Regions from separate parts of the Homo sapiens genome. Here regions 2, 3, 4, 5, 6 and 7 are each linked to region 1. The links are contacts of gene promoters, found by promoter capture Hi-C in blood cells and fetal thymus (Javierre and others, 2016). All regions are on one chromosome and are shown on one strand. The core of a region is centred on a gene start or on the middle of the fragment in contact, and the rest is flanking DNA. Distances in the headings are between cores, read along the strand shown. Region 1 holds the start of OR8K5 (olfactory receptor family 8 subfamily K member 5). Region 2 holds the start of OR4S2 (olfactory receptor family 4 subfamily S member 2). Region 3 holds the start of OR5AP2 (olfactory receptor family 5 subfamily AP member 2). Region 4 holds the start of OR5M1 (olfactory receptor family 5 subfamily M member 1). Region 5 holds the start of OR5M11 (olfactory receptor family 5 subfamily M member 11). Region 6 holds the start of OR5D14 (olfactory receptor family 5 subfamily D member 14). Region 7 holds the start of OR5D18 (olfactory receptor family 5 subfamily D member 18).

Region 1 (3,020 bases), core at 301-2,800:
ACTCATATAACCAGAATATGATATACATATCACATTTTCTTTATATATACCATATATATATCAAATGATATATATAGATATCACGTTTTCTTTATCTATATATATGTGTGTGTGTGTGTATATATATATATATGTATATATATATATGATGGAATACTACTCACTTATAAAAAGGAACAAAATAATGGCATTCACAGCAACCTGGATGGAGCTGGAGACCTTTATTCTAAGTGAAGTAACTCAGGAATGGAAAACCAAATATCATATGTTCTCACTTATAAGTGGGAGCTAAACTATGAGGATACAAATAGGTAAGAATGACATAATGTATTTTGGGGACACAGGGAAAAGTGTGCAGTGTGGGCGAGGGATAAAAGGCTACACATTGAGTACAGTGTACACTGCTCAGGTGATGAGTGCACCAAAACCTCAGAAATTACCCCAATGAACTTATTCACATAACCAGAAACCTCCTACTTCCCAAAAATTATTGAAATAAAAAACAATTAAAAAAATTTGAAAATTGGAAAATTTATATACACATGAAAAATTATCAAGTGACATTAATCTATATTATATATTTATTATAACAATATTACAAATTGATTATTAAACACAAAGTTGACATCAATTCTCAAAGAGCTTATAGAAGGCATTTTTCACCTCTTCGTTTCTTAAGCTGTAAATCAAAGGGTTAAGCATGGGGATTACTAAAGTGTAAAACACAGAAGCCATTTTATCAGTATCAAAGAAGTGAGTGGAATTGGGCTGCATGTACATGAAGAGTAGAGACCCATAGAACACAACCACCACTGTCAAATGGGAACCACATGTGGAGAAAGCCTTTTTCCTGCCCTCTGCAGAATGCATTTGACATATAGCTAACAAAATCAACATGTAGGACACTAAGACTATCAGAAAGGAGGAGATCAAATTAAATACAGAAAATAGTATGCTCAACAATTCTATTTCCTGTGCATTTGAGCAAAGCATAGGTAGCAAAGGAACATCATCACAGTAAAAATGACTGATGACATTAGAGCCACAGAAGGTCAATGTAAAAATCTTAATAGTGAACATCAGAGCCTGAAATGTGCTGTAGAGATATTGAATGCCCACCAGTACATGACACAGTCGCTGAGACATAATAACATAATAGAGCAGAGGGTTACAAATGGCCACATAGCGGTCATAGGCCATGGCTGACAGGATGAAAAATTCACTGATAATGAACATAAGGAAGAATGCCAGCTGTGCAGCACATGCATAATAGGAAATAGTATTTCGATCCACAACAAAATTTGCCAGCACCTTGGGACAAATGACAGTAGAATTACCAAGATCAACAAAAGCCAAATGTCTGATAGAAAAGTACATAGGTGTATGTAAGTGGGAGTCCAGTTTGGTCAAAATGATCATAGTTAGGTTGCCCACCACTGTGATTAGGTAGATGACGAGGAAGACTCCAAAAAGGGGAATCTGCAGCTCAGGCCGCCTTGTGAGTTCCATCAGAATGAATTCAGTTAGCACTGTTAGATTGTGTTGGCCCATTTAGTCCAGTTATCTCTTCTAGGAAGAAACAGTTGGGTTATTAGCTGTTCCATGTAGTGCTATTTAAACAAATTATAATATTTGTAGACAGAATAGATTGTTATTCACAATAGATAATAGAAACATTATTTCTACATTTGATTCAGAAATGAAATATAAAGCAAAATTTTCTACTTTCCTAAAAGAGGAATTCATGTAAAATACATGCACTGAAACAACATAGATTAAATAGTTTCATCAATATTTGAAGTATATCGGTTAATAACACAGCCATATAGGTATTATTACAAAAAGATTATGCTCTTTTCATCTGCACAATGGTATCATGATTTTCTTTTGTTCACTTCCACTTTTGTTGTAAAACTTTTCTGTAATTTTGATATTCTCAAAGACAGAGGTAGAGATGGCAATAAGATAATGAAGGTTAAGATTTGGGGTCCCTCATTTGCACTTCCAGGGTCTTGTGTGGGGACTTACGAATGCACGCAAAAATGATATATCTTTGTAAAATTTCAAATGTAAGATATAATAATCATGATCAATTAAGGCTGCTTTCTGTTTTCATTCCAACTTCTAGTATATCACACTTCAACTAATATCATAGTGACTTGACATTTCTGCAAGCATTGTGGGATCTAGCTAAAGAAGGATTGAGTTAATAATAGTTTATTTGATGTTCAATGGATATGTTTATATCATTCAGACACTATGATATTTATCACTGAATAATACTACCTATTCTGACTTAAGAATGTCTTCTAAGGATACTCTTGCCACCTGTATGCTGAGATGCATTTGGCATTTGATTAATTAACATACTATATTAATAAATTTTATATAGTTTGTGGCCATGGGTTTGTTTACTAATTACAATTTAAAGCTAATTTTCTATTCTAAATAAATATTCCCATTTATCTTTCAACTTGTATGTGTAATTTTATCTAAAAAGTCAAATTCTTCTAAGCTTCAAGACACATAATCTGGATCCACTTCTGCAAAAACATGATTTAAATCAATATTCAGTGATGACTATTTAATTATATGTACTTTATTTTCTGTAATAAAACACTGTGAAGATGGTAGGTTCTATAAATCATTTAAATAATTTGAGAATTTAGGACATCATATATTAGTGAATGACTTTTTTTCTGGAATTGTACAGTGGAGTATTCATGGAGATATAATACTGTAATTAAAACTATTTCAATGAAAAGTACTTCTCCCTTTATTTAAAAAATACACGGGAAGTCAATAAAAGAAAGTGGAACGTCCCTGATACAGATAGTGAAGATGTCTTAGCCTATTCCACTTAAATTCCCCTCTCCTTCAGTTTCCACTCATTGAAAATCTGGAACTCTGTGAGAGTGACTTTCAATTGGAATAGTAACGGAATTTTCCACAGATCTAATGTAGAATAGATTTATTATAATGTAATGGAATGTCAGCTTTAGCCTGCACATCCCTCAGGT
Region 2 (3,020 bases), core at 266-2,765, 510 kb before region 1:
TAATTCTCATCAGATATCCTTCCTTTGCACACATTTCTGTTATAAAATATGAACATTAATATTCCATTATTTATATATTATATTTAGCATTTGTTCCAAAACATATTTTTAAACATCTCCTAGATCTCAAAGTACATTTTGCAAAGTAGGAATAGAAGATATACTGACTCGCCCCACTACTCATCTAAATAACTGAGCAGCAGAATAGGGATCTCCAAAGATGTTCACATCTTAGTCCTCAGAACTTATCAATATATTTTGTTACATGATAAGGTGATTAAGATTGTAGATAAAAATTAAGTTTGCTAGTCAGTTGACCTTAAAACAAAGATGTTATCGTGCACTATCCATGTGGGCTCAACGTATTCACAAGGTTTATTTAAAATGGGAAAGTGAAGCAGAATAAGTTAAATTTGAAGATGCTACACTGCCTGCTTTGGAGATGAAGGAAAGGGGCCATAAGGAAGCTGGTAGATTCTAGAAGCTGGAACAGAATGAGTTTTCCCCTACAGACTTCGGAAGGATTCATCCTTTCCAATGCCTTGATTTTAGCCCAGTGAGCCTCATTTTGGACTTCTCACCTGCAGAACTGTGAAATACTGACTTTGTATTGATTTAAGCCACTAAGTTTGTGGTAATTCATTGCAGCAGCAACAGGAAACTAACACACTAGCTTAATCATGATGAATGTTTCCACAAACCTGGGCATAATTGCTCTTTTACTTCCTACTCTTTATTTTTCACTCATTTCTTCTGCTAACTCCAGATAGTGAAAATATAAGTAGGATCTCTTGGACATTTTGGATGTTGTTTGAAATAAAGAAAAAGGTAAGATAAGGTAAGAAGAGTAAAGTAAAAAAGTCAAGCATGGGGAAAGAAACTAATAGAAATAGGAAGAGAAAAAGCAAGATTATTATTAGTTTTCGTGAGTCAACCTTAAGAATTTACAATATAAAAGTAAATGAATTAAATTCAACACCATACTTATTCCAAGCATAGGCCAAACATGAACCTTATCCCAGCTATTTCTCCATAAATCAGCATAGAATCAATTAAGAAGAAAAGCAATGTTCCCAAATAGCACAATCGAATATACTATTTTCTATTACAATATAGCTTTCAAGAAAGAACAATTACAATTCAATAAATAACATAAAACAGATATCTTAATATGTTATATCAAATATGGACTATTTAATGCATATAGTAAAGCATATTAATTCAAAAACAAGGTTTAGAATGATAAAATTATTACTTCTCTTGGCTGAATTGCTTTGGATTAGGGCTATAGTCGTTAATATGAGAATTGATCGGTTTTTGTATTTAGCAACAATTTTTAAAATTTAATTTTAAAAAATTGAACAGACACTAGAATTAAAGTTCATTGGTAGGGCTGCAATTTGATTTTGACTATGGAGGAAGACTTTGGGGAAAAGCTGTCTCCAAGGTCATTTATCATTTTGCATCTTCCTCTTTAAATAGACCTGTAAGAATAGAGAAAACAGCATTTATTGTCAAAGACCCTGTGAAATGGCAGGTATCATTAGGTGAGAAAACCAGGAACAACAAAGACTCATTTCTACCAGCCTTTCAGTTTGGGGGGTCAGGTATTTTCCGGTACTAATTATTCACAAAGGAATTCCCTAGGCATCACTGTTACTTTACCTTGGGAAGCTGCACCCAAATTAACTCAAGAAGAGATAGAAACATAAAGTGAACTCAAGCTCTGGAAAATACTGGTGAGATTTTTTTTTCTTTTCAAACGAATACAGAATATTTGTGGAAAAAGATAATTAAATTGTTAGATTTTGAACATTTATAAAATAATGGAAAAATATTGTTCTCTGAAATACAGAGAGAATGAAATTATTAAAATCATGATAGTAAGATAGTAACATGTACCTAAACATGACTGTGAGGAAGGGTAGGATGGACACAAATAAGAAAATGTCAATAATTTCAAAGGAAAGTGAGTCATTATGCCCAACATGCCCAGATAAAGGAGGAAGGCATCCTTGTGATGGATATTGGCTTAAGGAGAGAAACAGCAAGATGTTACTGCATCAGTTGGAGTCAAGAGAGGCCATGATTCAGAAGGTTAACAGCCTTTACTAGGATGCACATTCTGATAAATGGAACTTTAGATCTCAATCCTGCAATTAAGATAAATGAATACCTGAATAAAATAGATTGGTGAATGAAAAAAAAAATTCCTCTAGAACCTTGTGATATGGACGGTAGGGGAAAAAATCCTCAGGCTTGTGTGCAAAAGCCCAGTTTCTTCTAGATGAGAGCAAAGCAACATAAATAATTGTTGCTCAAAACTGCTATGTTGTGAGCTTCCTTAAGTTGAGGGGCTCTCTTAGTGGAGGATGGTATTTTTCTTTTAATTCAGCAGGATAACTGAAGAGGAATGAGCATGTAAAAGCAGGGGATGTGCTTGAGACTGTATCTAAATCATATTACTATTACTCTTACAATCATTATTTTGTAATGCACAAGAGATAGCACACCTGTAATGACTACTGTGCCAACTCTAACATGAATACCTGAAGAAACACAATCCTATAGATTCCCAAAAGCTGGAAGTATTAGGCACGACTTCACTGCATAAGGATAGCTGAGAGCACAGAGTTTAGTAGGAGTTGTCAGCATTCAGCTGGATGGATCTTGAGAGGATCTACAGGTCTCTGCTAGACCACCTGTAATTGGAGGGATCATTTACACCTGCGGTTGATTAGCGAAAGAATCCTAAAAGCTCCTTTAATCAAAACTATTACAGATACCCTTTTCCATCCATGTACCAATGACCCCATTGTAGTGCCTGAAATTTCACCAATGAATATTCATCCATTTAGATAAATGTCATTTTCCTAAACCCATTAAAATTGTCATTCAGTGATGATCTCTTCCAGAAATATAAATCGACCAAATTGGGAGAATGAATATGGCCAGAATAAAACTTGAAAGATTAGAAAGATGTATGAAGCAATGTTGACATTAAGGGACAGTCTTCTCTT
Region 3 (3,020 bases), core at 269-2,768, 480 kb after region 1:
TACCCCCTCTCAGTGGGTGATCATGTCCAAAAATTGGCTATTGTGGAGGTACAAATACTTGTTCCTTTTTTCTTAATTTGGGACATCTCTGAAGGACATCTCTGCAGAACGCCATGTAACAGTGGCTCAGTCTTCGTCACAATTCAACTCCTTCTGTCCAATCCTGCTCCCCTCACTATATATTGTTTGTGAGAACACTCTGATAAACTTTCTGCCTAAAAATATCTCTCTGTCTCAGTTTGTTTGCCCAGAACCCAAAGACACCAATGTTTGTATAATAAAACTCAGACTGAGATAAGCTTAATATTTAAATTAAAACTTAAGTCCAGATTAGCCAATTCCAAGTGTTTTGATACTTTTTCCAGTCCCAACCTTCATCTAGTGTATTGGTGCATCAAAGGGACCCGTGTGTGTGTGTGTATATATATATGAGATACTAGGATATTAAAAAGTATACTTCATTTTAAATTATCTACTTTAACACAGAGAAACAGCTTAAACAATCAGAGAATACAGTTAACATGAAAATGTATTTTCTTCTACGTAACAAATGATGGGTAACATGGCTCTACAAGATGTGTTTCCATAAGATCTTCTTTAGGGCCTTTTTTACATCCTTATTTTTTAAACTATAGATGAGGGGATTTAGCACAGGGATTATTACTGTATAAAAGACAGAGACAACCTTGTCTTGCTCCATTGAGTAGCTAGATGTAGGGCGCAAGTACATGAAGAGGATTGTTCCAAAGAATATGGTGACAGCCATGAGGTAAGAGGCACAGGTGGAGAAGGCTTTGTGCCTGCCCTCTAACGAAGGCATCTTCAAGACGGCAATGAAGATACACAGGTAGGAAATGAGGACAATCATAACACAGCTGATGACAATAAAACTTGAGAATGCCATGATCACAATGCCATTGAAGTGGGTATCAGAGCAAGAGAGTTTGAGCAGTGGCGGGGTGTCACAGTAGAAATGGTTGATCCTATTAGAACCACAAAAGGACAACCTAAAAGTCATCCCTGTATGTATGGCTGCATTTCCACAACCTGCTAAGAAGGAGGTAGCTATTAGCAAAAAGCAAATTCTCCCAGACACGAGAACTGGGTAGAGCAGGGGGTTCCAAATGGCTGCATAGCGGTCATATGCCATCATGGCCAACAGGAAGCACTCAGTCCCCAGGAAGGAGCCAAAGAAGTAGAACTGGGCAGCACATCCATGAAAAGAAATGGCCTTATTCTCAGCCATGAGGTTCACCAGCATCTTGGGAGTGACGGAAGAAGAGTAAGAGGCATCTACAAAAGAGAGGCTACTGAGAAAGAAATACATGGGGGTGTGGAGACAGAGATCAATCTTAATCAATACAATCATCCCCAAATTGCCCACCATGTTTGCCATATAGATCAACAGAAACAATGCAAAGAGGACTCCTTGTAGATCTGGATTGTCGGAAAGTCCTAAGAGGAGAAATTCTGTTACTTCTGTTTGATTTCTGCCTCGAACCTCTTTCATAAGTCTCATCATTTGAGCTGCAATAAGAAAGAAGATGCACAGTGGAATTTAGTCAGATGAATACATGATGGAGCTATAATATATTTTTAGTGAAACAACTTCTAACAGAAGAGCAAAAAGTGAAAAGCATAATAAAAGGTATGTTGGATTTGATGCCAAATCAAAAGACTTGTAGTACTAGATGTGCTGTCTACTAATGACTGAAGCAAGTGATTTAGTGTGTATTAACTATGGTCATTCCTACAGTTAACTCTTTATTGAATAATTAAAATAACTTATTCTTAAGATGTGACTGTCATAATTACTTGTGATAAATAAATTAATTTATATATACTGACATACCCTCCAGACACAACTTCTGGAGAAGGATGATAGAATGAATTCAGGACACTTACAATTCCTCCTCAGTACTAATAGAATGAATAAAAATATTGAAAGTTAATAAAATTAATCTATAGTGCCAGACAAGAAAAATAGTTGGGCTGGGCCTGGTGGCTTACAACTGTAATCCCAGTACTTTGAGAGACCAAGGCAAGGCAGATCACTTGAGCTCAAGAGTTAAAGACCAGCCTGGGCAATGTGGCAAAATCTCCTCTCTGCAATATTTAAAAAAAAAAAAAAAAAAAGCTATGTGTGGTGGCTCATCCCTGTGGTCTCAGCTACTCAGGAGGCTGAGGTGGGAGGATTGCTTGACCCCAGGAGTTTGAGGCTGCACTGAGCTGGGTTTGCACCACTGCACCACTCCAGCCTGTGCAGTAGAGTGAGACGGTGCCAAAAAAAAAAAAAAAAGAGAAAGAAAGAAAGAAGGAAACAAAGAAAGAAAGAAAGAAGGAAGGAAGGAGAGAGAGAAGGAAGGAAGGAAGGAAGGAAGGAAGGAAGGAAGGAAGGAAGGAAGGAAGGAAAAAAGAAAGAAAGGAAAGAAAGAAAGAGAGAAGGAAAGAAAGAGAAAAGAAAGAAAGAAAGAAAAACAGCAGAATCTCTTGGGGTAGAGGAAGAGCTTAAAAATGCCTGGCCAAAGAAGAAAATAGAGAATATTCCCACACAGCCAGTACAGTTCGAACCCCACTCTGATTTTCCATAATAAACATCTACAGAGAACAGAATAGGGTCAGTTAAATAGTAATTTTCCACAATTCATTCCAATATTTAGAGAATCAGATTGTAAGAATGAGTAGGCATCCCCGATAAAAATGGCAGAAGTAGCCAAGCCAGTGAAAATCTCTAATACTCACATTCACAAGTTCTCAAGAGAACCAGAAAACATCAGAAGTAGCACATGCAATTTTTCAGCCACCATACTTAATCAAGGGAATAATTTAATACCAAGTAATCAAAATGGAAATAAGAGTCACCCTTTGCAAGGTGTAATGAAGACAAACATAGGATAAGAAAAGTAAAAGAAATAAAAAAGAAAATTCAGAATAGATGCCCAAACTAGATCTTCCAAATCAAAATGTAAACACCACCAGCGGAATTCTCCTCCAATTTAACGCAAATCCTCCACCCCTTC
Region 4 (3,020 bases), core at 215-2,714, 450 kb after region 1:
GAATACCCCAAACAGGATCTTCTCTAGCACTGGGTCGTCTGTCAGTCCCAAGAGAATGAATTCTGTCACTATGGTGTGGTTTGGGGAGAACATCTTCTTATCTCTTGAAACTGAAAGTGACAAAGAATGTGAGGATTTCTCTCTGATTCAGATTTGGCATTTGTTTCATCCATTTATCATTCGCTCATTCATCTATTTATCTAGGTGACAATTACTTCTCTTGTTTCAATAATCACATCGGAAATTTTACATAACATTGTCTCCCTATATGTCTGTTTTAATCTGTATCTTTCTATACATCAAACCCACATAACTTACACAAACATACATATTCTCTATTTCTCTCTGCCATACATGTATACATACATAAGTTTATTCATTCCTACATTTATACCTGTCTTCTTGGTGTACTCCACATTTGGTAATTTTATTCAAACTTCGTGAGGAAACAAAAAATCCAAAGGAATGAAAATTAAATACAAAAACCCTAGGTTATTTGCATCTTTCAAATGGATAAATAAAGGAAGTCTGATCTTTATTATACCTCCAGCTCTGATATTGTATTGTTTCAGATACAAAATGAAGAAAGAAAAGCAAAGCATTTTCAATTAAGACCCATAGCTGTGTGCCTTACCTTTATTCAGGAACGATTAAACTAGAGAAATTAATTTCTATCTGATATATGGCTAAGAGGGTACAAAATGAAGACTTGTTTTTTTCCACTTTGTAATGTCACTGCCTGTTTACTCATGTATACTGTATAGCTTCATTTCTTTCTGTTCCAATTCCTGCGGTTACTACAGTAAACAAGTCTCCCAGCTCAGGGAGCACACATTATAATAGAGGGAGCAGAGCACACATTATAATAGAGGGAACAGAGATTAAACACACAGAAAAAGTTACATACAATTTCAGGCAAACCATTTTTCTGTGAAGAAAACATGAATGTAGGATGCTTTTAGATGACCACTCAAAGAAGATCTTTCTAGGAATGCAGCATTTAAACAGCAGATATGCAATTCTACTATTTGGGGAAAGTGTGGATTTTTTTTGTTCCCATTTTTGTGCCACTAACCCACTCATGACAATATTGTTTAGGTATGCACAGATAATTTTTAAAAGGGGTCTTAGCTTCCAACTCAAGCCACTCTCTCTCAGTTCTCTTTGAAAGTAACATAAGATTGTAAAAATTTCTACTCCAAAAATTCCACCTTAAAGCCATTGTTTATTTAGTTCTCATGTATACATCAAAAGAGCTTACATATAATTGATTGTAGAGAGTCAATGCAATACTAACATATGGATAGAAAAGTCTAGTGAAATTGGAGAAAATATTTGTTTTCCCCATTGATGGAATACTTATCTCTACACACACACACACACACACACACACACACACACACACACAAATTGTATTTTTAGTGAACAAATGTAGAAAATGACCTACCTGTTAATGTTAATGGACCATATCTTATGAAAACAAGGTAGCAAGATTTACAATATATTTATTAGGTATCTTCCCTAGAGTATTTTTAAACTAATTCTAAAGAGCCAATTAAAATATGCTTTGTTCCTCAAGAGCATAACCTTCATTTGATGCTTCCTGGAGCTAGACTCTCCTGCGAGGATAAAATTCCTATTTTACATTTATGTAGAGTTTCGGTACAAGTGTGCATGAGATCCTTAGTACAAACAGAGAAATTAGCCATCCCTTTCAATAACATGGAAGAGGAAAACATGGGTAGATAACTTCTGCCTTTTTAGTATGATGAAAACAAGGAATTCTCATCAGAACTCTTCAGCTTTTGCCTATAAACACTGCAGTGAGGTCATCTAATGAGTGAGGGGTAGGAAGTTGTGGCAGGTGAGACATTTGAGAAGATGAAAGATTTCAAAGACTGTGAGAGCAGAAGAGTGGCATAATCAGTAGAAGGAGGCAGAAGTATTGGTCAGGGCCCAGGATCCTTTGGAGGACGGGCGTTATGGATTTATTTTGGAACTAGTCTGCACTATCAAGGTTAATATTAACATGCTAATCATCAAAGGTCTCAGAACCAGGGCTATTTATAAAATTGATGATGCATAAAATTGTTGATTTAGAAAGGGAATTGCAAATAGAATGAGAATATTTGAAAATTGTGTAGCACTGTATTTGTTGGAGGACAAAGGGACCTAGAGATGCGTTCATTAGTCTGTATCTTCCAGTGCACATATAGTTCCAGGTTAGCACAAATGGATCAAAGTACAGTCTGACCAAGACGGAGAATCATCCCTAATTTTATTAGAGTTGCGGGTGGTGGGTTATACTCCGAGAAATCATTTAATAAAATATAGCTATATATCAAAATCAAAATGTAGATTTGTTACATCCCATGAAATTTGAGAATATAGGGCATTCCTATATGTTTATTTCAAATTGATGTGTAAAGTCTTCTCTATCTCAATTATTCTGTTTTATTTTGGTTCCTTGCATTACTAAAATTGTAAAATGCAATAATATTGCTTAAATATTTTGGAAGCCGGGCACGGTGGCTCTTGCCTATAATCCCAGCACTTTGGGAGGCCAAGGCCGCTAGATCACCTGAGGTCAAGAGTTTGAGGCCAGCCTGGCCAACATGGCGAAACCCTGTCTCTACTAAAAATACAAAACTTAGCCAGGTTTGGTGGTGCGTGCCTGTAATCCCAGCTACTCAGGAGGCTGAGGCAGGGAGAATTGCTTGAACCCAGGAGGCAGAGGTTGCAATGAGCCAAAATTACACCACTGCACCTCAGCCTGGGTGACAGAGCGAGACTTCATCTCAAAAAAAAAAATTAAGATGGAATATAAGGTATCATAAGATTATAAAACTGGTGTCCCTCATTTCCTCCTCCCTTAATGTAGAGGTACCTTGTTTTGCATAAAAATGTTGAAGATTTGGATAATTTTTAAGTAGACTGCTTTCACTTTGAAGAAAAAATTCCCTAATGTATGTGTGTATGTATGTATGTATTTTCTTTTATATGTTGGTATACAATGGCTA
Region 5 (3,020 bases), core at 202-2,701, 380 kb after region 1:
TCAGGAAAGGAGTACAGAAGAATGGATTTCTTGGAGTGCAGAAGAATGGGTTTCTTAAAGACATCTCTGCTGAAGCAGCAGGCGAGAATAAGAATAGAATACATTCAAGAAATTGGGCTGGGAGCACATTTATTTTGTTTGCCATTGTAAACAAAAAGAGCACAACAGTGTTCCAGGGCATGCCACGTTTCACCCACAGCAGTGCTCCTCAAAATTCAGTGTGCTTATCAATCATCTAGGAGTTTGGATAAAACACATATTTAAATACAGTGCACCTGAGGTGCAGACTTTGATTCTGTACGTGTAACAACCTCCAAGGAAGAGCTCATGCTGCTGATTCATGGAATATATGTGGAGGAGCAAAGCCTAGAAAAATCTCATTTTTACCCAGCATGAGCTTTTTAGCTGAGACACTCAACATAGACTCACAGAGAATATTAAAACTCACCATCAGAACGCTAGGACATGTGAGCCAAAGATTTCGATTTAATGTTTATTAGGAAACAAAGGCATCACCATGGTCATGACAATATTTCATCTCAGGACATTCTTCAAGGCCTGCTTCACATCTTTATTCCTCAGACTGTAGATCAATGGATTAAGTACCGGACTCACAAAGGTGTAAAAGACAGCTATTATTTTAGATTCCTCAACAGTCTTATCTGTTGGTGGTCTTATATACATGCAAAAGAGAGTCCCATAAAACAGGGTGACAGCCATCATATGGGAACCACAGGTGGAGAATGCCTTGTGCCTTCCCTCTGCTGATTTGATCCGGAGGATGGCAGCAAGAATGAAGGCATAGGACACCAAGACGATGGTGAGGGAGCTGGAGAGGTTGAAGCCAGCAGATATGAACATGGCATGCTCTTTGACATAAGTATCAGAACAAGAAAGCTTAATGAGCGGCGGGTCAGCACAGTAGAAGTGGTTGATGACACTGGATCTACAGAAGGTCAGGCGGAAGGTCAGGATGGCCTGGAAGAGTCCATCTGAGAAGCCATAGACATAGGGAAATGTGGCCAAGCAGATGCAAACTCTCCTGGACGTTTTCACACTGTAGCGCAGAGGGTCATATATGGCCACATAGCGGTCATAGGCCATTGCTGCCAGCATGTAAAACTCAGTGAGTAGAAGGGCAATGAAAATGTAGCACTGTGTAAAGCAACCAGCAAAGGAAATGGTCTTCTCAGATACGATATTAGTCGACATCTGCGGGGTTGCATTTGATGTATAGCACAAATCCACAAAGGCTAAGTTAGTGAGGAAGAAGTACATGGGCGTGTGAAGGCGAGAGTCCAGTCTCATTAACATTATCATGCCCAGGTTGCCTAGCAGGGTGACGAGGTAAACAACCAGAAACAGCACAAAAAGCAGAGACTGGAGTTCCGGGCAATCTGTGAGCCCAAGTAAAATGAATTCTGTGATTGCACTGCCATTTGTGTTGGACATTTCCTGACAGTTTGCTCTTCAAGCTATGGAAATAAAGCCAATATAAACAAATGCACATACCATGTTAATGTTCATTTGAATTAGTTTTTCTCCACATCTTCATATATCATCGAAAGTTATCTATTTCTGGGTACTACCATAAACTGGTTTTGGTAATTATGGTAGACTTACTATAATTTTGTAAGTCTACAATGTCATTATATCATTTGCCTAGGCATTACATTACTAATATATTCTTTCTCTACACCTATAGATATATCTATACCTACACCTGTATCTATCTATCCATCATCTATCTATCTATCTATCTATCTATCTATCTATATGACTGAGCTACATCTCTTCTATCTTCCTGTACTTTTTAAAACCTAATTCTATTCATGCTACATGACCCACTTTAAAGGCCACTTCTTTGTGAAGCATTTCTCATCCATTTCTCCTAATACGTGTCACTGAATTCTCTCTTCTTTATTTCCAGAGTATTCTATATTTCTCTAATTTATTATTTAGCCCCCATTGTATCATTATAAAGTATATACTTTCTCATCACATAATGGTGTTGAGAGCAGGGACAAAGTGAAGTTCATTTTTTAATTATACTTCTCAACACATATTTTTATACTAAATTTTCTTAAAATGCAAAAAGGAGAGCATGTAAGAATGAATGACTTGCAATTTTTACTCACAGATTTATCTCCATGTAGCCTTGCGTGATGTCATGTTCTCAGGAGAATTAAGTGATTATTGAAACTTAGTGTAGAAGCAATTCTTGGGAAGCTTGTTTATTAGCCCATATCACAGGTTTTTGCAGAAATTCTTATGTGGGGTACTGGAATCTTCATCTCTAATGATTATCTGTAGGATTCTAATGCAAGTGTTCCAAGATCATAGCTCAAAATGCACAGTCAGAATGGCTCAATAAACATATGCCAAATAAATGAACAAAGAACTGTGAAATAAAATAAATTTTCATATAGTATCTTGAGGATGTTTAGAGCAATGACTTAATGTGTTTAGAAAGAAAATAAATTAATATTTTCAGAGTTGGTATTTAATCTTTTAATCACAACTTGTATCTAACAAGAGGTATTACAAATCCTTTTGGCTTTTTACCTCTCTTCACATCAGAATCTTTGCTAATTCACATTTTCCTTTCTTTCGAGAAGTTTTTAATTTTTGCCCATTCTTTCATACTTGAAATTTTTATTACAGGCTTCTCAATTCTTGTCTCATCTCAAAATGAGTCACCTCATTTATTTTACTGTAAGTTTTAGAATGCCTATAATCAAAACTCTGTCTTGCTGTTACTATTGAGAAAAGCAACGTACAAAAAGGTTAAATAATTGAACCGAGGTCACACTACTAGTGCATACAATCTGAGAATCTGAGGTAAGAACTGAAAATTATGTATTTTAAAAACTTCCTTTATTAGCTGCTGCTGCAATACATATCACCTTTCTAAAGCTAAACTGTTTCATAAAATTGTATGTATAGACCTGGAAGGCCTTGAGATATATGATGATAAGGAACTTCTGGGGACACAGATAGTCATGGCATTCTTACATAGT
Region 6 (3,020 bases), core at 382-2,881, 360 kb before region 1:
TTTGTGTGGGCCAGCATATCATGGGGAATCATCTGAAAATGAGGCTCCTATGCTTTCTTCCACATTCAGGTTGCCATAGGGAATGCCCCATGAGACACAAATTCAGGCTGAGCAAGAAGAAGCAATACAGCAAGGTATGGGCCACGGACATCTGTAGCACTTGATTATGAAATTTACTTGTGTTTTCAGGAATAGGAGTGCTATTGGCTGCTGCATATTTATACCCAGGATGCATGCAGGATAGATTATATCTCACTAAGAGGTGCACTGAATTTTGGAACAGATGAGGCAAGTATTTAAAGTTTTATTGTAATTTGAATTACATGCAAGCAAAGCTTGATAGTTAACTTCATGCTGCATTTTTTTTTCTGAGTAGTTTCAAGGAAATTCCAGTCACTAAATGTGACACAAGAGACTTGGTATTTGCCTTAATTGCCTGTTTTGATGCTTGTAAAGAGTAAGTTGTTAGTGATTCTCCAGAGTTTGAGTCCCTAGGGCTATGAAGTTAAATGAAAGAGTCTTGGTGCCTCAGGTATACACTGTCTGAAGAGACAGGAGGGTGGCAGCCTGTTTCTTTGTATGTAGCAGGTAAGTGTATTCAGGCTTTCTATGAAACTGAAAATAGGGTCTTCCTGATACGGCAAATGGGGCCTTTGATTTTTTAAATGTTAAATCACTGTGTTATTCAATTCTGTGCCCAATAATATTAAAAAATGAGGTCAACACTCATGAAAATATTTAGCCTTATATCCATTGAAAATTATCTCATGATGAATAGTATAAACTTGCTACTTGGAAATGGATATTTATCCATATTTCCTTTATATTCATCTTAAATTAGTGTGTAAATTTTTATAAGATTGAAAACTAGTCAGGCTTAAGGGAACTTTCACCTGATAAATCTTGAGACTCTTATAAGATACTTATGCAATACCTGAGCTATAGTAGATGCTGACCCTTAAGTCATAAACCCCAATAAAATGCCCATTCCACCAAGAGGTCAAAAGTAGGCCATTGTCCTTGTCAACTCCTCAGCAACTAAGATATTCAATGAGAGAAGTAGCCTTTCTAGAATAAAAGTTGGTAAAAAGTGGAATTAGTGTGCTCTTTTTCCAGATTTCTACAATATTTTCCTTTATCCTTAGAATAGAAATATATTCTGAATATTTTAATCAATTTGTCTATATAAACAAATACAGTAGCAATGCATGTTGTTGTTTGATGTAAATATTTTACATTTTCCACAGAATCTTTATTAGTTTATATATTTATGTATAAACATTTTCTATAAGTTATGTGCATGTCATGCTACTAGTTAATGTGTAGACATGTATACTACTGTACACATATACACACACATACACATACACATATATATTCACACATATATATATGTATGAAAACAGAAAGTGTAATAAAAATGGAAAGACACTCCAAAGACTTGGCTTGGTTTGTTTTAGACATAACAGCTGCCTGCATGAGGTATGTTCTTCTTGGACAAAACTAGGACCAGTAACTATTCCTTCTCCTTTTTTCCTTTTAATCAAAGAAAGTCATGACATAATTATCACTCACCCCATATTTTGCTTTGGCAGGAACAATTCTCTTCAACCCTTCCATTAAAAGGAATTATGATGATGGTTTTAAGGAATCTGAGCATGGAGCCCACCTTTGCCCTTTTAGGTTTCACAGATTACCCAAAGCTTCAGATTCCTCTCTTCCTTGTGTTTCTGCTCATGTATGTTATCACAGTGGTAGGAAACCTTGGGATGATCATAATAATCAAGATTAACCCCAAATTTCACACTCCTATGTACTTTTTCCTTAGTCACCTCTCTTTTGTTGATTTTTGTTACTCTTCCATTGTCACTCCCAAGCTGCTTGAGAACTTGGTAATGGCAGATAAAAGCATCTTCTACTTTAGCTGCATGATGCAGTACTTCCTGTCCTGCACTGCTGTGGTGACAGAGTCTTTCTTGCTGGCAGTGATGGCCTATGACCGCTTTGTGGCCATCTGCAATCCTCTGCTTTATACAGTGGCCATGTCACAGAGGCTCTGTGCCCTGCTGGTGGCTGGGTCATATCTCTGGGGCATGTTTGGCCCCTTGGTACTCCTTTGTTATGCTCTCCGGTTAAACTTCTCTGGACCTAATGTAATCAACCACTTCTTTTGTGAGTATACTGCTCTCATCTCTGTGTCTGGCTCTGATATACTCATCCCCCACCTGCTGCTTTTCAGCTTCGCCACCTTCAATGAGATGTGTACACTACTGATCATCCTCACTTCCTATGTTTTCATTTTTGTGACTGTACTAAAAATCCGTTCTGTTAGTGGGCGCCACAAAGCCTTCTCCACCTGGGCCTCCCACCTGACTTCTATCACCATCTTCCATGGGACCATCCTTTTCCTTTACTGTGTACCCAACTCCAAAAACTCTCGGCAAACAGTCAAAGTGGCCTCTGTATTTTACACAGTTGTCAACCCCATGCTGAACCCTCTGATCTACAGCCTAAGGAATAAAGACGTGAAGGATGCTTTCTGGAAGTTAATACATACACAAGTTCCATTTCACTGAACCAGTCTCAAAAGTTGTTTTCAATCCAAATGAACAACCCAAACAGAGGCTACAATGTTTCTAAAGCCTAGAGCATATATTTATATGAGGTTTTTATGGAATTGTCAAATGTGAATTGATATAGCATTCCCAGTATTATCAGGTTCAGAAATCTCTACAAGTTTAGTCCAGTTTATACAAAATGAATGAAAATAAACATTTAATCTGAAAACAATGAGAAACCATATTTCAAAATTATTTCTAACTTTTATATGAATGACTAAATAAACACAAATATTTGGTAACAAATACTATACAAATTCAAGCAACATTCTCCAAATTTTCTCTAAAAAGAAACCTTTCCCCTAGGAACAAAACTAGGGCTTCTTGGAGAAATGGCTAATTTGAAGTCTAGGGTGGAAAATAGGCAAGATGAGCTTTGGGCAATTTAATGCTCCAGAAAGA
Region 7 (3,020 bases), core at 270-2,769, 340 kb before region 1:
CAATCTCTTGACCTCGTGATCCACCCGCCTCTGTCTCCCAAAGTGCTGGGATTACAGTCGTGAGCCACCGCGCCCGGCCTTGAGGTTGTCTTTAATACACAAATTCATGAGTATAGGAAGAGAGGGCCCTTGAATATGTTGGTCTTGCATGTAAATTAACATCTTTCTTGATAGGCCGTCTAAAAATTTGGGTGGGTTATGTGAATAGATATAATGTCTATTATGATAGAGAAAGAGATTACAGATATGATAGCATCTGAGAGGTGTTGGACACTAATTAGAGCAATATAATGATTCTTTCCTATTATTGTTTTCTGTTTTCTCATGAAATGTATTCATGTTGCTGTACTATCTCAAGTTTTTAGTTCTTCTCCTTCATAGGTAATAGATGGACACAATGAATATATAATGTGTCTTGAAGGGAGAGAAAAGAAATAGACATGGAGACAGGGATAGACAGAGAGGACCTAGAAGAAAAGGGAAGTTTGCAAGTCAGACTCTTACACTAGTTATTTCTGGGTAAAAAGATTTTCCTCAATCCCATTCTCATGTGTTTTATCTTGATGCTGCTTTCTAATATATCTTTGTGGCAGTAACTGTCACTGGACTATGTAGATTCTCTAGTCTGCTTATTAATTGAAAGTATGGTTATTAATGAAGGGAATGTGTTAGTATCTCGACCTAGATAATGGAGCAGAGTTTGGTGCGGGTAAAGGGTTACATGTCTAGGAGTTCAAGGATCAAAACCCTAGTCACAGATGTGTAGATTGGCCTTCCTGGGCATATCGATAGGAAATTCAAAGCTTCTCTGGCTTCTACTTTGTCACCTATAGAATAAAGAATAAACAAGGGTATCTGTATTGACTATTCGATATTTATTATTTCTCAAGCAATGAGGAAGGATTGATAATTAGTACAGCCTGATTTTGGAGCATACGCTCTGAAACAATTAGTTCAGCTGTATTTTGAAGTCAAATTTTCTGGGTCAGACAAACATTAAACTGCTATATGGAATTAACAATAAAGGCACAAATGTTAAGCGTTAGGGCTCTTGATAGTTAATGTCATCGTATAAACAAATTATGTGAAAACTAATTTATGAAATTTTGATTTGTATAACTGATTATAAGATTTACACAATCAGTCATCATATTATACGAGGAAGATCATTTATGTAGAATGCTTAAGGAGGCCTGAAATTATTATGTAAATTTTTAATTTAAAATAATCACAAATATTTAATCTCATTTTCCTATATTTGGAAATATTAAAAATTACAGTTACTAACTTACTCTTTTACTCAATAATTGTATTTTTCTTAAGAAATTAAAAAACATTACAGTGTTTTTACATGTTAGATATTTAAGAAATCTTAAACAACAAACTCATAGATTCCGGAAGAGATATTTGCTTCATCCTTCAGGAGCCGTAAAGGTATTCAATCACCCTTCTTATTTTCTCATTCTCCTTAACATTTTTGTTTTCAGAACTAACTTTCAGATTCGAAGAAACAGAAGCGATGCTGCTGACTGATAGAAATACAAGTGGGACCACGTTCACCCTCTTGGGCTTCTCAGATTACCCAGAACTGCAAGTCCCACTCTTCCTGGTTTTTCTGGCCATCTACAATGTCACTGTGCTAGGGAATATTGGGTTGATTGTGATCATCAAAATCAACCCCAAACTGCATACCCCCATGTACTTTTTCCTCAGCCAACTCTCCTTTGTGGATTTCTGCTATTCCTCCATCATTGCTCCCAAGATGTTGGTGAACCTTGTTGTCAAAGACAGAACCATTTCATTTTTAGGATGCGTAGTACAATTCTTTTTCTTCTGTACCTTTGTGGTCACTGAATCCTTTTTATTAGCTGTGATGGCCTATGACCGCTTCGTGGCCATTTGCAACCCTCTGCTCTACACAGTTAACATGTCCCAGAAACTCTGCGTGCTGCTGGTTGTGGGATCCTATGCCTGGGGAGTCTCATGTTCCTTGGAACTGACGTGCTCTGCTTTAAAGTTATGTTTTCATGGTTTCAACACAATCAATCACTTCTTCTGTGAGTTCTCCTCACTACTCTCCCTTTCTTGCTCTGATACTTACATCAACCAGTGGCTGCTATTCTTTCTTGCCACCTTTAATGAAATCAGCACACTACTCATCGTTCTCACATCTTATGCGTTCATTGTTGTAACCATCCTCAAGATGCGTTCAGTCAGTGGGCGCCGCAAAGCCTTCTCCACCTGTGCCTCCCACCTGACTGCCATCACCATCTTCCATGGCACCATCCTCTTCCTTTACTGTGTGCCCAACTCCAAAAACTCCAGGCACACAGTCAAAGTGGCCTCTGTGTTTTACACCGTGGTGATCCCCATGTTGAATCCCCTGATCTACAGTCTGAGAAATAAAGATGTCAAGGATACAGTCACCGAGATACTGGACACCAAAGTCTTCTCTTACTGAGCCTGTTACTTTCATGGAGTTTGTCACACATATAAATAAATTCTGTCCATAAATATTGATCTTAAAGATATCTTTACAAATAAACAAAGTTAGGGTTGTACAACTCAACGAAATGGATTTTCTTTTCAACAGACTAAACTTAGCTCTGTCTCTTACTTTCTGGGAAGCATCAGTAATCCCTCTAATCTTTAATATTTCATTTATGAAATTAGTATAGTATGGGTTAGATCATAGTCTGATTGTGAAGATTAAAATATAATGGACACCTTACGTAAGTCAATGGATATTAATTTCATGTCCTTTCCTTATAAGATACCGGGAATAGACTAAGTGCTTAGGAAACATATGAATTTCTTTTATAAATGTGCAAAATAAGTTAAAAGAAGAAATAGTCCTCATCTTCAAGGATGAAAACTGTGTTGATAATAGGACAATGAAGAAGTGGCCATTGTGTAAGGCAGAAATTAATATGTACCAAAGAGAGTTTGAGAGAAGAGAAAGTTCAAATCTACTTAGGGATTTTAGAAGGATGTCTTAATGAAATAGGTATTGTTTGAAA

What was found. Contacts are between HindIII fragments. The CHiCAGO score rates a contact against its expected background, and 5 or more counts as called.
Region 2: a contact is called between the fragment with the promoter of OR4S2 here and the fragment with the promoter of OR8K5 in region 1, in 6 of 17 cell types (total CD4 T cells, neutrophils, monocytes and 3 more). The highest score is 9.0, in total CD4 T cells.
Region 3: the fragment with the promoter of OR5AP2 here is called in contact with the fragment with the promoter of OR8K5 in region 1 in 8 of 17 cell types (M2 macrophages, endothelial precursors, erythroblasts and 5 more); the score reaches 11.6 in M2 macrophages.
Region 4: a contact is called between the fragment with the promoter of OR5M1 here and the fragment with the promoter of OR8K5 in region 1, in 6 of 17 cell types (naive B cells, naive CD8 T cells, total B cells and 3 more). The highest score is 8.4, in naive B cells.
Region 5: a contact is called between the fragment with the promoter of OR5M11 here and the fragment with the promoter of OR8K5 in region 1, in 13 of 17 cell types (erythroblasts, M1 macrophages, M0 macrophages and 10 more). The highest score is 14.3, in erythroblasts.
Region 6: the fragment with the promoter of OR5D14 here is called in contact with the fragment with the promoter of OR8K5 in region 1 in 12 of 17 cell types (fetal thymus, total B cells, total CD4 T cells and 9 more); the score reaches 13.1 in fetal thymus.
Region 7: the fragment with the promoter of OR5D18 here is called in contact with the fragment with the promoter of OR8K5 in region 1 in 5 of 17 cell types (erythroblasts, naive CD8 T cells, neutrophils and 2 more); the score reaches 7.9 in erythroblasts.

Annotation. Positions count from the first base shown.
Region 1 is chr11:56,158,767-56,161,786 of GRCh38, forward strand. It overlaps OR8K5 (olfactory receptor family 8 subfamily K member 5), which reads right to left and starts at 1,551. Exons shown (of 1, transcript NM_001004058.2): 1 at 628-1,551. The coding sequence starts at 1,551. The coding sequence ends at 628. The HindIII fragment of the contact is 6,274 bases long and covers 1-2,513 here.
Region 2 is chr11:55,646,812-55,649,831 of GRCh38, forward strand. It overlaps OR4S2 (olfactory receptor family 4 subfamily S member 2), which reads left to right and starts at 1,516. Exons shown (of 2, transcript NM_001004059.3): 1 at 1,516-1,739. The HindIII fragment of the contact is 13,020 bases long and covers 1-3,020 here.
Region 3 is chr11:56,640,921-56,643,940 of GRCh38, forward strand. It overlaps OR5AP2 (olfactory receptor family 5 subfamily AP member 2), which reads right to left and starts at 1,519. Exons shown (of 1, transcript NM_001002925.1): 1 at 569-1,519. The coding sequence starts at 1,519. The coding sequence ends at 569. The HindIII fragment of the contact is 8,469 bases long and covers 298-3,020 here.
Region 4 is chr11:56,613,410-56,616,429 of GRCh38, forward strand. It overlaps OR5M1 (olfactory receptor family 5 subfamily M member 1), which reads right to left and starts at 1,465. Exons shown (of 2, transcript NM_001004740.2): 1 at 1,448-1,465; 2 at 1-110. The coding sequence starts at 93. The HindIII fragment of the contact is 6,001 bases long and covers 1-3,020 here.
Region 5 is chr11:56,541,806-56,544,825 of GRCh38, forward strand. OR5M11 (olfactory receptor family 5 subfamily M member 11) reads right to left here and starts at 1,452. Exons shown (of 1, transcript NM_001005245.1): 1 at 535-1,452. The coding sequence starts at 1,452. The coding sequence ends at 535. The HindIII fragment of the contact is 1,332 bases long and covers 896-2,227 here.
Region 6 is chr11:55,793,925-55,796,944 of GRCh38, forward strand. It overlaps OR5D14 (olfactory receptor family 5 subfamily D member 14), which reads left to right and starts at 1,632. Exons shown (of 1, transcript NM_001004735.1): 1 at 1,632-2,576. The coding sequence starts at 1,632. The coding sequence ends at 2,576. The HindIII fragment of the contact is 1,368 bases long and covers 334-1,701 here.
Region 7 is chr11:55,818,111-55,821,130 of GRCh38, forward strand. It overlaps OR5D18 (olfactory receptor family 5 subfamily D member 18), which reads left to right and starts at 1,520. Exons shown (of 1, transcript NM_001001952.1): 1 at 1,520-2,461. The coding sequence starts at 1,520. The coding sequence ends at 2,461. The HindIII fragment of the contact is 3,860 bases long and covers 802-3,020 here.